Regions from separate parts of the Homo sapiens genome. Here all the other regions are linked to region 3. Evidence: promoter capture Hi-C in human tissues and cell types (Jung and others, 2019). All regions are on one chromosome and are shown on one strand. The core of a region is centred on a gene start or on the middle of the fragment in contact, and the rest is flanking DNA. Distances in the headings are between cores, read along the strand shown.

Region 1 (2,791 bases), core at 200-2,699, 340 kb after region 3:
TAATTATACAAAAATATTTGGAAAATGTAGAGCAATATAAAGAAGTAAACAAACACATCTATAATCTCTTCACTTAGCTATAACTGCAACTAAAGAGCATTGCTATATGCTCACATGTATATCTACATTTGAGAAACTATAATATTACATATTTTACCAATATTTTTATGGGGTATCACTTTTTAATTGCAGTCTAAAACACAAAAAAAATTTCACAAAGTTATTAAGTATACATTATATTTCTTTCCTAGATCTTCAATAGAAGAGTATGAAGAGGAAATAAACTAGTTGGCAAAAAGTAGTATGTCGTTCTATTTGCTCAGTTTGCAAGGAAAGACAGTCAGTCACCAAACAAGAAAAGTTATTTGCTGCCATCACAGCTTACTATAGGGGGCTCTTTAAAATGCTACCAGTTCTTCCAATGATTTTTACAAACTTAATATTTTTTAAAAGATGCAATTATATTCATTTGGTCTGGATCTAAATGGTTTAGGAAGCCAATGTATTTTCCTCCCACAGACTTGGAAAAAACCCTAAAGTTTATAGAGCTATTTAAGCCATAAAAATATAGGCTACCAGAAATAGTTATACTATTAAAATGACAATAAAAGATATCCAATTACATTTCAAATGTGCAGAAAATGAATATACTAAACTAATTTCTTAAATTTGAAAATAACTTAGGTTACATGCTATAATTAACGTCCTTAGCTGGGGGAAGAGAGAAGTTGAACATATATCTACATATTTGTTCTTAAAATGCTGCAATGTACTATACATAAAACAACAAGGGAGAAATGTAATTTAACCTTTTCTTGATTATTAATGTCCTCATGTATGCAGTGCTGGAATACAGGGACAGACATTGGGCTGAGTAGGTAGATCTGCTTGCCTCATACAAAGGTTCAGACTGTTCTGGTCTTAACAGTGTTTTCTCCCCTTGCCATCAGGTGTCACTTCTGGCTGCTATTAATATACTTGCCTCTAAGGAAACAACACATATAAAACACTTAGCAGTTTCTGGCACATAGGAAGCATGTAACACATATTTGCTATTATGATCATTCTCCATCCTAATTTGCTACTTCTGACTACTAAGGATAAGAAATAAGAACAGATACTGGGCGCCGTGGCTCATGCCTGTAATCCCAGCACTTTGGGAGGCCAAGGTGGGCAGAAGGCTTGTGCCCAGAAGCTCCAGACCAGCCTGGACAACATGGCAAAACCCTGTCTCTATGAAAAAATATAAAAAATTAGTCAGGCATGGTGGTGTACATCCTGTAGTCAGGAGGCCGAGGTGGGAAAATCACCTGAGTCCAGGAGGTCCAGGCTATAGTGAGATGTGATTGCACCACTGCACTTCAGCCTGGGCAACAGAGTGAGACCCTGTCTCAAAATAAAATAAAATAATAAAATAAATAAAGTAAAATAAAATAATAAAATAAAATATAAAATAAAATAAAAGGAAAAAAGGAAAAAAAGAACAGAAAGCTTGTCAGAGTTGTATTTAAAATAACAGTAAATACACTGCTTCACTTGACTAGCCTAAAAAAAATTCCAGCCGGGCGCGGTGGCTCACGCCTGTAATCCCAGCACTTTGGGAGGCTGAGGCGGGTGGATCACGAGGTCAGGAGTTCAAGACCAGCCTGGCCAAGATGGTGAAACCCCATCTCTACTAAAAATACAAAAAATTAGCCGGGCGTGGTGGCACGCACCTGTAATCCCAGCTACTCCGGAGGCTGAGGCAGATAACTGCTTAAACCTGGAGGGGTGGAGGTTGCAGTGAGCTGAGATTGCACCACTGCACTCCAGCCGGGGTGACAGAGTGAGACTCCATCTCAAAAAAAAAAAAAAAAAAAATTCCAGTAAATAATAGGCTTAAGTGAGGTCTTTTCCCATGAATATAATGCACCAAATTAAAAAAAATCATTAATTGAGGCTTTATTATATGCCAGACACTTTGCTAATTGCTTTATATAAAGTAGCCCATTTAATTTTCTCAGAGTACTTAATGATGTATGTAGCATATCAACATTTTACAACAAAGAAATGCTTAGTCACATTAAATAACTTTCTGAAAGTCATTCAGAACTAGTAAAGTGGCAGAGTTGTTTTCAAAGTCAGTTTTATTTTTTAGTATAGATATCATTTGTTTATTATAGAAGAGACATGGCAATTATTTACATAATTAAATATTTCAGAACTTAAGTGCAATGAGCAGCTTCATGTTGATGGCATTTCAATAGTGATTTACTTCAGTCTACATACTTTCTAAGAATGTCAGCATCTCTAAATAAGAAATAATCTGGCTGGGCATGGTGGCTCACGGCCTGTAATGGCACTTTGGGAGGCCAAGGCGGGCAGATTGCTCAAACCCAGGAGTTCAACGCCAGCTTGGGCAACGTGGCAAAACCCTGTCTCCACAAAAAGATACAAAAATTAGCCAGGTGTGGTGGCTCACCCTTGTAGTCCCAGCTACTTGGGAGGCTGAGGCAGAAGGATCGCTCAAGCCTGGGAAGTTGAGGCTGCAGTGAGCTGAGATCGTGCCACCACAATACCCTGGACAACAGAGACAGAGACCCTGTCTCGAAAAGAAAAAGAAAAAAAAAAAATCCTTGGCCTTCCAGGTCAACTGAATAAACCTGAAGAGTTGCAAAGTAGTTCTTTACTTTTGTGCCTCCATATTCTGGGAGAATAATTCTTTATCTCTAACTTTCACATTAACTGGTTGAATCCACCTTTTCCTTGAAAGCTCAATCCAACAACTACTGTTGCTTGCAATGCTTTACCT
Region 2 (2,700 bases), core at 79-2,578, 360 kb after region 3:
GGATTCAGGAGTGGAACCTTTATGCAGCTCCAGAGTCTATCTCTTAACCACTCTCCAGTAGTTAGGACCAGCTTACGGCTTTGGAGTTACATGATTTGGAGTACATAGCTTTAAAGACAGTTTTGTTATAATTTCTAACATTAATTTGTACATAAATAATTTTAAGTCTTAGTTCAAGTATCACCTGCTCAGTGAGGCCTTATAGTCCCCCAGCATTTCTGGGCCTCCTTACTTTAATCTGCTTTTTTTTTTTTCCATAACCACTTCCTGCCACTATCTACATATCACATAATCTAATCATGTGTTGAGTTCATTATGTGTCCCCCCAATAGTTTATAAGCTTCATGATGGCAGAAATTCTTCTATTTTTTAAAACTCTTATACTTTCAATGCTTGACAAAATGTTTGGCACTTAATGGGAACTCAGTAAATATTTGTTGGTAAGTGAATGAGTTAAATATTAGAATATCTATTATAAAATTAAAATACCTTTGGCTAATTCCTCAAACCTTACACTTAATTTCTTCTATGATGTACTGTGTAATTTCATCAAGCTGTTTAATTAAAATTTGAGATGAGTTGTATATTTCATGGTTTTTTTTTTCCTCTTGCTTTTGTAAACATTATGTCTCTTTCAGGGAAAGTTGTCAGCGAAGCTTTCTGAAAACAGTAAGATACTGATCTCTATGGCTAAGGAAAACATACCACCAAATAGTCAACAGACCAGGGGTTCCTTAGGTATGTCATTAGATGTGCTAAACTTATTTTAAGATATCCTTAGTGGGCTCTTCTGAAAGAGGTTTGTCTTGTCAGAAAAAAAGATTTATTTGGAATCCTAGTAGTTTTTCTTTCTGGAATCTTACGTAAGTCAATATGGTCTACATATGAAATAGAACTCATACTGAAAACTTTGTACTTGTTTTATGTGATACTGCATTGGTTATGATTTATGGAACTTATAGAAGAAGGTGTGTATAACATAACTTAAAAATTGAAAACTTTGAAAGGAATTTGTGTGTGTGAGAGAGAGAGAGAAGAGAAACTTTTATTTGTTGATTGAAAATGGTGAACTTGCTTATTTAAAAATTAAAGAAATATGCTTAAAGGGTACAAAATGCTGTTTGGTGAAAGACTATTTTAATTATTGATGATCATGTTGGAATTGTAAAGAAGTTAATACTGTAGCCATACTAATGCTTTGATTATGGTATGGTATGAAAATATTTGGAAACTTTTTACCACATTTTGGCTTGTTGGTAGGTATACATTTTAAAAAAAGAAAATGTATGAATATGTAAAAATTTTTGTTTATTTATTAAAGACAGGGTCTCTCTCTCTCTCTCTCTGTCACTCAGGCTGGAGTGCAGTGGCATGATCATAGTTCAGTGTTATCTTGAACTCCTGGGTTCAAGCAATCCTCCTGCCTTGGCCTCCCAAAGTACTACAATTACAGGCCTGAGCCACCATGCCCAGTCTGTATGAATATATATAATTTTTTTTTTTTTTCTTCAAGGCTGAGTCTGACCCTGTCGCCCAGGCTGGAGTGCAGTGGCACGATCTCGGCTCACTGCCGCCTCCACCTCCCAGGTTCAGGCGATTCTCCTGTCTCAGTCTCTCAAGTAGCTGGGATTACAGGCGCATGCCACCACACTCAGCTAATTGTTTATATTTTTGGTAGAGACAGGGTTTCGCAGTGTTGGCCAGGCTGGTCTCGAACTCCTGACCTCAGGTGATCTGCCTGCCCGCCTCGGCCTCCCAAAGCTGGGGTTACAGGCGTGAGCCACTGTGCCCGACCTGTATGAATATTTTCAATGTGCATTTTGTGATTTATTGATGATGACAAACTTTTTCACAAAAAGAAAATCAACTATGATAAGTTCATTTGATTAAAGCATTGTTCTCAAATGGACAGCTTTTCATGGATGTAGGTATACTCCTAAATTGTTTTTGTGTGCCAGTGGATACAAGGGGATGCCGGCCAAGAAACTGGATAGTCAGTAAGCTTTGTCTCTGCATTAGACAAATAGCTCAAAGTGAGTGCCCTACTTTTAATATCAGATAGATAACTCTTTCCATTTTGAATCTCTTATAAATTATTAATATACAGCATTAGTGAACTAAAGTATTATATATTGGTAAAATTTTTTAATCTCTAAGGCTCTCAATTTTTTTTCTGTGAAATAAGTTTGATTATCTTCCAGCCCTACGTTTTTATGAATCTAAATTTTAATTATTCCAAGAGATAATTTTTAAAAAGTTTAATAGTAGGTTATCTCAAGCACTAAGGTCGCTAAGGTTAGACAGAATCCCTTTTAAATTCTAGGGTTACAGCTTGCTTTGGATTGGGCTGTGATGCCTTTATGACCTGTCAGGAGCTACACTTTGTTTCCTTATCTTATGACATCTATCTCAAAAAGTCGTTATGGGCGAAAGTTAAATACGTGAAAAGATGGCTGGCACGTAATTGGTACACAATAAATATTAATTTCTTTTTCTCCTTAACATCTTTTTTTTTTGAGACAGGATCTTACTTTGTCGCCCAGGCTGGAGTGCAGTGGCATAATCTTGGCTCACTGCAACCTCCACTGTCCAGGCTTAAGTGATTCATCCTCCCTCCTCAGCCTCCAAGTAGCTGAGACCACAGGTGAGCACCACCATGCTGGCTAACTTTTTTTTATATACATATATTTTCTGTAGAGG
Region 3 (2,700 bases), core at 192-2,691:
TCACTTGTTGATTTTGTTACAAGGGAAGAACTCCTCTAATGTATGTGGATTGCTTTGTGGACCACAGTAAAACATATAAAGGACCACCGGCAATGTATTGTTTTGTATCTACTGCATTCTTATATTCATTTCTGAAAACTACTGTTTAGAAAGTTCTGTAGGATTACTGAAGTACAAAAAGTATTTGGATTCACAATCCACTTTTTAAAGAGAGGCCACATTGTGGTTATTGACATTAAAAATGAATGTCCTAACCCATACTTGTGGGGCTAAATCTTTGAATATCATTTTAAAACATGAGGAAATGTCTTCTGAATTTAGGGAAGTCACACATAGATCCCAGTTCCTCTAATAACCTTTGGCAGTTTATTTGTTCATAGATTTGTGGCAAATTCTCTGGAATCATATGATCTAAAGTACAAATCATTGTCTCAAAATCTAAGGCATGATATGCACATGGGAATCTTTAAGTACTTGTCTGAGTCTATCTTCAAGTGATATCTGATAAGACCTAAATTACAGTAGTGTTGTGGGACGAAGAAAACAACCCACTCTACTTCAAAATCTTAACCACTTGACTCCACATCCATTGAACCATGTAATTCTTAGTTCTCCACTCAGCTTCTCTATCTGTTAAAAGAGATAAACAGATCTAAAACGCAGCTTCTGTAATTCAAGAATGAGTAATAAGGAGCTGTAAAGTGTGCACTCAGCTGACTTGGAGATTAATGGGAATAAAAAAAAGAGTCAGTAGATCTAAAAAGATGTGTGGAAAGGAAATTTCTCTGCACACAGGATCTGCCAATTTGTGAAAGTTCTCGACTGTTTATAAACACAAGGGCCGTAACTCTGCTAATGACAAAAGTGGAAAACTGTCCAAATAATGCTAAATGAATCACAGTTGTTCTCAATTATTTGGATATTTAATTCACTCCTCTGAGTTTCCAGTTTACACCAAGCCAACCCCCCCAACACCACGGGCCCACCCGGGGGGTCCTGATCCCTGCACACACCAGGTCATCTCTGTTGGGCCCCGGCGCTCTGGCCCGCGCCGGTCTTGGGCCCCAGGGTAGCGGCCACTGCGGGCGGAGCAGAGGGAAACACCAGAGTCTGTGACTCCAGACAGGACCCACTGTGTCCTCTTGAACTTTGCACAGCGCGTGACGGGGGCAGACGGTGCACCGTGGCCCGGCCTTTCGCGGGGGTCCTCGGGGAAGAGAGAGGAGCGCGGGTTTCCTCGGAGGCCTGAGCGGGACGCAGCCTGCAGCCCCTCCCCGCACGGGCTGCCCCCGGCCCGCCGCTCGCGCCGCTCTGCTGGGATCCGGCGCCTTCCCCGGCTGTCCTCGGCCTCCCGCGCGCTCCGCGGGAGGAGCCGCCAGCGGCCGTGACGCGTCAAGGAGGAAACGCCGGCGCCCGGCGGCCCTGCCGGGAAGGAGGAAGCGCAGTGCGTTCGGCTCCGCGCCCGCCGCGCCGGGAGCAGCACCGCGGGGCCAGGTAGGTGCGGGGCCGGCGGGAGGGTCCGCGCGCCCGGGACTCCGACGGCGGCCCGGGGCGGGAGGAGACGGGGCGGGGCGAGGGCTGCCCGGGCCTCGGCCGCTGCCTGTCCTCGGAAAAAGCCGTACCTCCGCCCAGCCCCCGGCTCCCGGAGAGTTTGTGGTCTTTGTTTCCACGAGGTGAATTCAGATCCTGCCTCGAGATTCCTAAACGCCCAAGGGGCGTCGGTGGCTGGACCTTGTTAACCCCCACGCAGCCGCCGAGCCTGGAGGAACTGGGAACGCCGAGCAGGGAGACCCTATCTGAGGTCGAAAGTGGGTGCAGGTCACCTGCGAGGGTCGGGGAGGGGGCAGCCGCCAGAGTGGGGTGGATGGAATCGTTTAACCTGTTGTCAGCGGATCTGTAGTAAAAGACCTTAATACGTTGCGTCTTTTAAGTTCTCTGTAATTTGAACCCTTACGTCTCTTCAAGTGAATCTGGCCCTATTAATTCTCACAGTTTTAGCTTTGGAATGTACCCACAAGAAGTGCTTTGAGATTTTTAGATTCTGTCATTTTTAGTCATCGTTACTTGGAAAGAGAAAAGAGAAAGGAATCATCTCTTGAAACTTAAAACGCTTTCATTGAGTTGTGCACAGTGACTTCTGAACCATGAGTAGAATTTCAGTCCTGCACCAGAGACTACTTAGTGTGCACTTGGGTGCAAAATAAATACAGAGCACTGTAATTTCTAAATCTTTTGTCAAAGTGAAAAATAGACTGTTGTGTATTTTGATTCTCTCCCTTCTCACCAGATTGAGACTTCACCCAGCCAATCTGGGAGGTGCCTTTTTTTATTTACCAAACACTTACATAGCCCTTACTATGCGCTGGGCTCTTTCTAAGTTCTTTATAAATATTAAATCAAATTCTTAACTTATCATATTATAGCGGTTCTAGCAATGAAGAGGCTATCCATACTTTAGTTCCCCAAATGTCATTGGAAGAGCTGTAAACATTAGAGGAAGTTTTAGGCATGTTTTAGCACCGGGTGTGCCTTCTGGTCCCCTTGGCTACCACTTCTGTAAGACAAGCCACCACCCCAGCATTTCCCTGGGGTAAGGGAGCCTGGAGCTCCTGGGAATGCGACCTGTTCAAAGCAGATGTTGGCCAGAACCTGAATGACTTGTGTAACATGGTCTCTTTCAACTGCCGTTGTGCCCATCGG
Region 4 (2,700 bases), core at 102-2,601, 410 kb after region 3:
TTCCAGGAATAAATTCCACTTAGTCATGGTGTATAATCATTTTAATATGCTGCTGGATTTGGTTTGCTAGTATTTTGTTAAGGAGTTTTGCATCAGTGTTCATATGTGATCTTGTTGTAGTTTCCTTATACTGTCTAGCTTTGGTATAAGCATAATGTTGGGCTTATAGAAGGAATTAGGAAGTGTTCCCTCCTCTTGAACTTTTTGAAAAAGTTTGAGGATTTATATTAGTTCTTCTTTAAATGTTTGATAGAATTCACCAGTGAAACCATAAGGTACAGGGCTTTTCTTTGTTGGGTGATTATTGATTAGAGATTCAGTCTCTTTAGTAACTAGTTATATAGGTCTATTCAGATTTTCTTTTTCTTCATGATTTAGTCTTGATAGGTTTTTATTTCTAGGAATTTGTCCATCTCATCTAGGTTATCCGATTTGTTGGCATATAATTGTTGATAATATTCCCTTACAGTCCTTTCTTATTTTTAAAAGATTAATAGTGATGCCCCTTTGTGAATTTCTGATTATATTTTATTATTTATTTATTTATTTATTTTTCTGACCTCATTCTTCCCATCACAGAATTCCTGATTTTAATAGAAGATTCAGAGCCTTCTTGTTGGTCAGTGTAGCTAAGCATTTGTCAATCTTGTTGATCTTTTCAAATAACAAACTATTGGTTTGGTTGATTTTTTTTTTTTCTGTCGTTATTCTAGTTTCCATTTCATTGATTTCTGCTGTAATCTTTTAAATTTCCTCCCTTCTGCTTACTTTGGGTTCCGTTTGCTCTCATTTTTCTGGTTTCTAGAGATGAAAATCTAGATTATTGATTTGGTATCTTTCCCTTTGTTTGGTATGTATACTTACAACTATAAGCTTTCCTCTTAGTACTGTTTTAGCTACATCCCTTAAGTTTTGGTATGTTGTCTTTTCACTTTCATTGCTCTCAAAATATTTTCCAATTTTTAAAAATTTCTTCATCAACCTGTTGGTTATTTTGAAATGTGTTGTTTACTTTCCACATAATTGTGAATTTCCCAAATATCCTTCTGTTACTCATGTCTAATATAATTACATTGCAGTAGGAGAACAAACTTTGTATGATTTCAGTCAGTCCTTTTTAATTTATTGAGGCTTATTTTAAGACCTAACATGGTCTGTCCTAGAGAATGTTCCACATGCATTTGAGAAGAATGTGTATTGTCCTGTTGGTGAGTGTATTATTCTATAAGTGTCTCTTAGATCTAGTTGGCTTATAGTGTTATTTCTTTTATTTCCTTGATCTTCTGTGTAGTTGTTCTATTATTAGAAGTGAAGTATTTAATCTCCAACTGTTACTTTGTGTGTGTGTGTTCTGATATACAGTCTTGCTCTGTGTGTGTGTGTGTGTGTGTTTGTGTGTGTGTGTGTTCTGATATACAGTCTTGCTCTGTCACCCAAGCTGGAATACAGTTGTGAGACCATAGTTTGCTGTAGCCTCAACCTCCTGGGCTCAAGCAATCCTCCTACCCCAGCCTCCTGAGCAGCTAGGACTACAGCCGTGTGCCACTGCACCTGACTGATTTGTTTATTTTTTGTGGAAACAGGGTCTCCCTGTGTTGCCCAGTGTGATCTTGAACTCCTGGCCTCAAGCGATCCTCTTGCCTCAGCCTCCCAAAGTACGAGGAATATAGCCATGAGCCACCACACCCGGACTCCAACTATTATTCTTGACTTGTGTATTATTCTCTTCAATTCTGTCAGTTTTTGTTTCGTTTCTTAGGTCTCTCTTTATATGCATATGTTTATAATTGTGTCTTACTGAAGATTTGACCCTTTTATTAGTGTCAGAGATTCTTCTGTGTCTCTGCTAACAATTTTTGTCATAAAGTGCTTTTAGTTCTAATATAAATGTTGCTGTTCTGGTTCTCTTTTAGTACTGTTTGCATGGTGTATGATTTTTCGTATTTACTCTCAATTTATTTGTCTTTGAATCTAAAAGATGTCTCTATGTAGACAGAATGCAGTTACTTCCTGGTTTTTATGTTTGCCATTTTGCAATTTTTTTCTATATGTCTTATGTCTTTTTATTCCTCTAATCCTCCTTTATTACCTTCTTTTTCTTCTTCGTTTTTTTTTTTTTTTAAGAGATAGGGTCTCATTCTCTTTCCCAAGCTGGAGTGCAGTGGTGTGATCACAGAGCTCACTGCAGCCTCAAACTCCTGGGCTCAAGCAATCCTTCCACTCCAATCTCTCAAGGAGCTGGAACTACAGGCACATGCCACCACGCCTGGCTAAATATTTGTATTTTTTGTAGAGATAGGGTTTTGCCATGTTTCCCAGGCTGGTCTCAAACTTCTGGCTCAAGTGATCCCAGCCCCACAAAGTGCTGGGATTACGGGCATGAGCCACCGCGGCCAGGCTCTTTTTTTTTTTTTTAAGACGCAGTCTCGCTGTTGCCCAGGCTGGAGTGCAGTGGTGCGATCTCGGCTCATTGCAAGCCCCACCTTCTGGGTTCATGTCATTCTCCTGCCTCAGCCTCCCGAGTAGCTGGGACTACAGGCGCCCGCCACCACGCCTGGCTAATTTTTTGTATTTTTAGTAGAGACGGGGTTTCACCGCGTTAGCCAGGATGGTCTCGATCTCCTGACCTCATGATCCACCCGCCTTGGCCTCCCAAAGTGCTGGGATTACAGGCATGAGCCACCGCACCCGGCCTATTAG

What was found. The method cuts DNA at HindIII sites, captures the fragments that hold promoters and counts their contacts. A contact is called where the count stands out against the background at its distance.
Region 1: a fragment that was not itself captured here is called in contact with the fragment with the promoter of SGK3 in region 3 in 1 of the 25 tissues and cell types used here (dorsolateral prefrontal cortex).
Region 2: a fragment that was not itself captured here is called in contact with the fragment with the promoter of SGK3 in region 3 in 1 of the 25 tissues and cell types used here (dorsolateral prefrontal cortex).
Region 4: a fragment that was not itself captured here is called in contact with the fragment with the promoter of SGK3 in region 3 in 2 of the 25 tissues and cell types used here (bladder and thymus).

The regions. Positions count from the first base shown.
Region 1 is chr8:67,046,876-67,049,666 of GRCh38, forward strand. All of the region lies in intron 6 of COPS5 (COP9 signalosome subunit 5), which reads right to left. Among named protein-coding and RNA genes, the nearest start is that of COPS5, 14 kb to the right of the region's middle. The HindIII fragment of the contact is 4,996 bases long and covers 1-2,791 here.
Region 2 is chr8:67,075,844-67,078,543 of GRCh38, forward strand. CSPP1 (centrosome and spindle pole associated protein 1) reads left to right here. Exons shown (of 31, transcript NM_001382391.1): 3 at 639-738. Among named protein-coding and RNA genes, the nearest start is that of CSPP1, 13 kb to the left of the region's middle. The HindIII fragment of the contact is 3,037 bases long and covers 1-2,700 here.
Region 3 is chr8:66,711,340-66,714,039 of GRCh38, forward strand. It overlaps SGK3 (serum/glucocorticoid regulated kinase family member 3), which reads left to right and starts at 1,442. Exons shown (of 17, transcript NM_001033578.3): 1 at 1,442-1,494. All of the region lies in intron 3 of C8orf44-SGK3 (C8orf44-SGK3 readthrough), which reads left to right. RefSeq lists a silencer at 1,151-1,620. The HindIII fragment of the contact is 13,282 bases long and covers 1-2,700 here.
Region 4 is chr8:67,121,505-67,124,204 of GRCh38, forward strand. All of the region lies in intron 15 of CSPP1 (centrosome and spindle pole associated protein 1), which reads left to right. Among named protein-coding and RNA genes, the nearest start is that of CSPP1, 58 kb to the left of the region's middle. The HindIII fragment of the contact is 4,479 bases long and covers 1-2,700 here.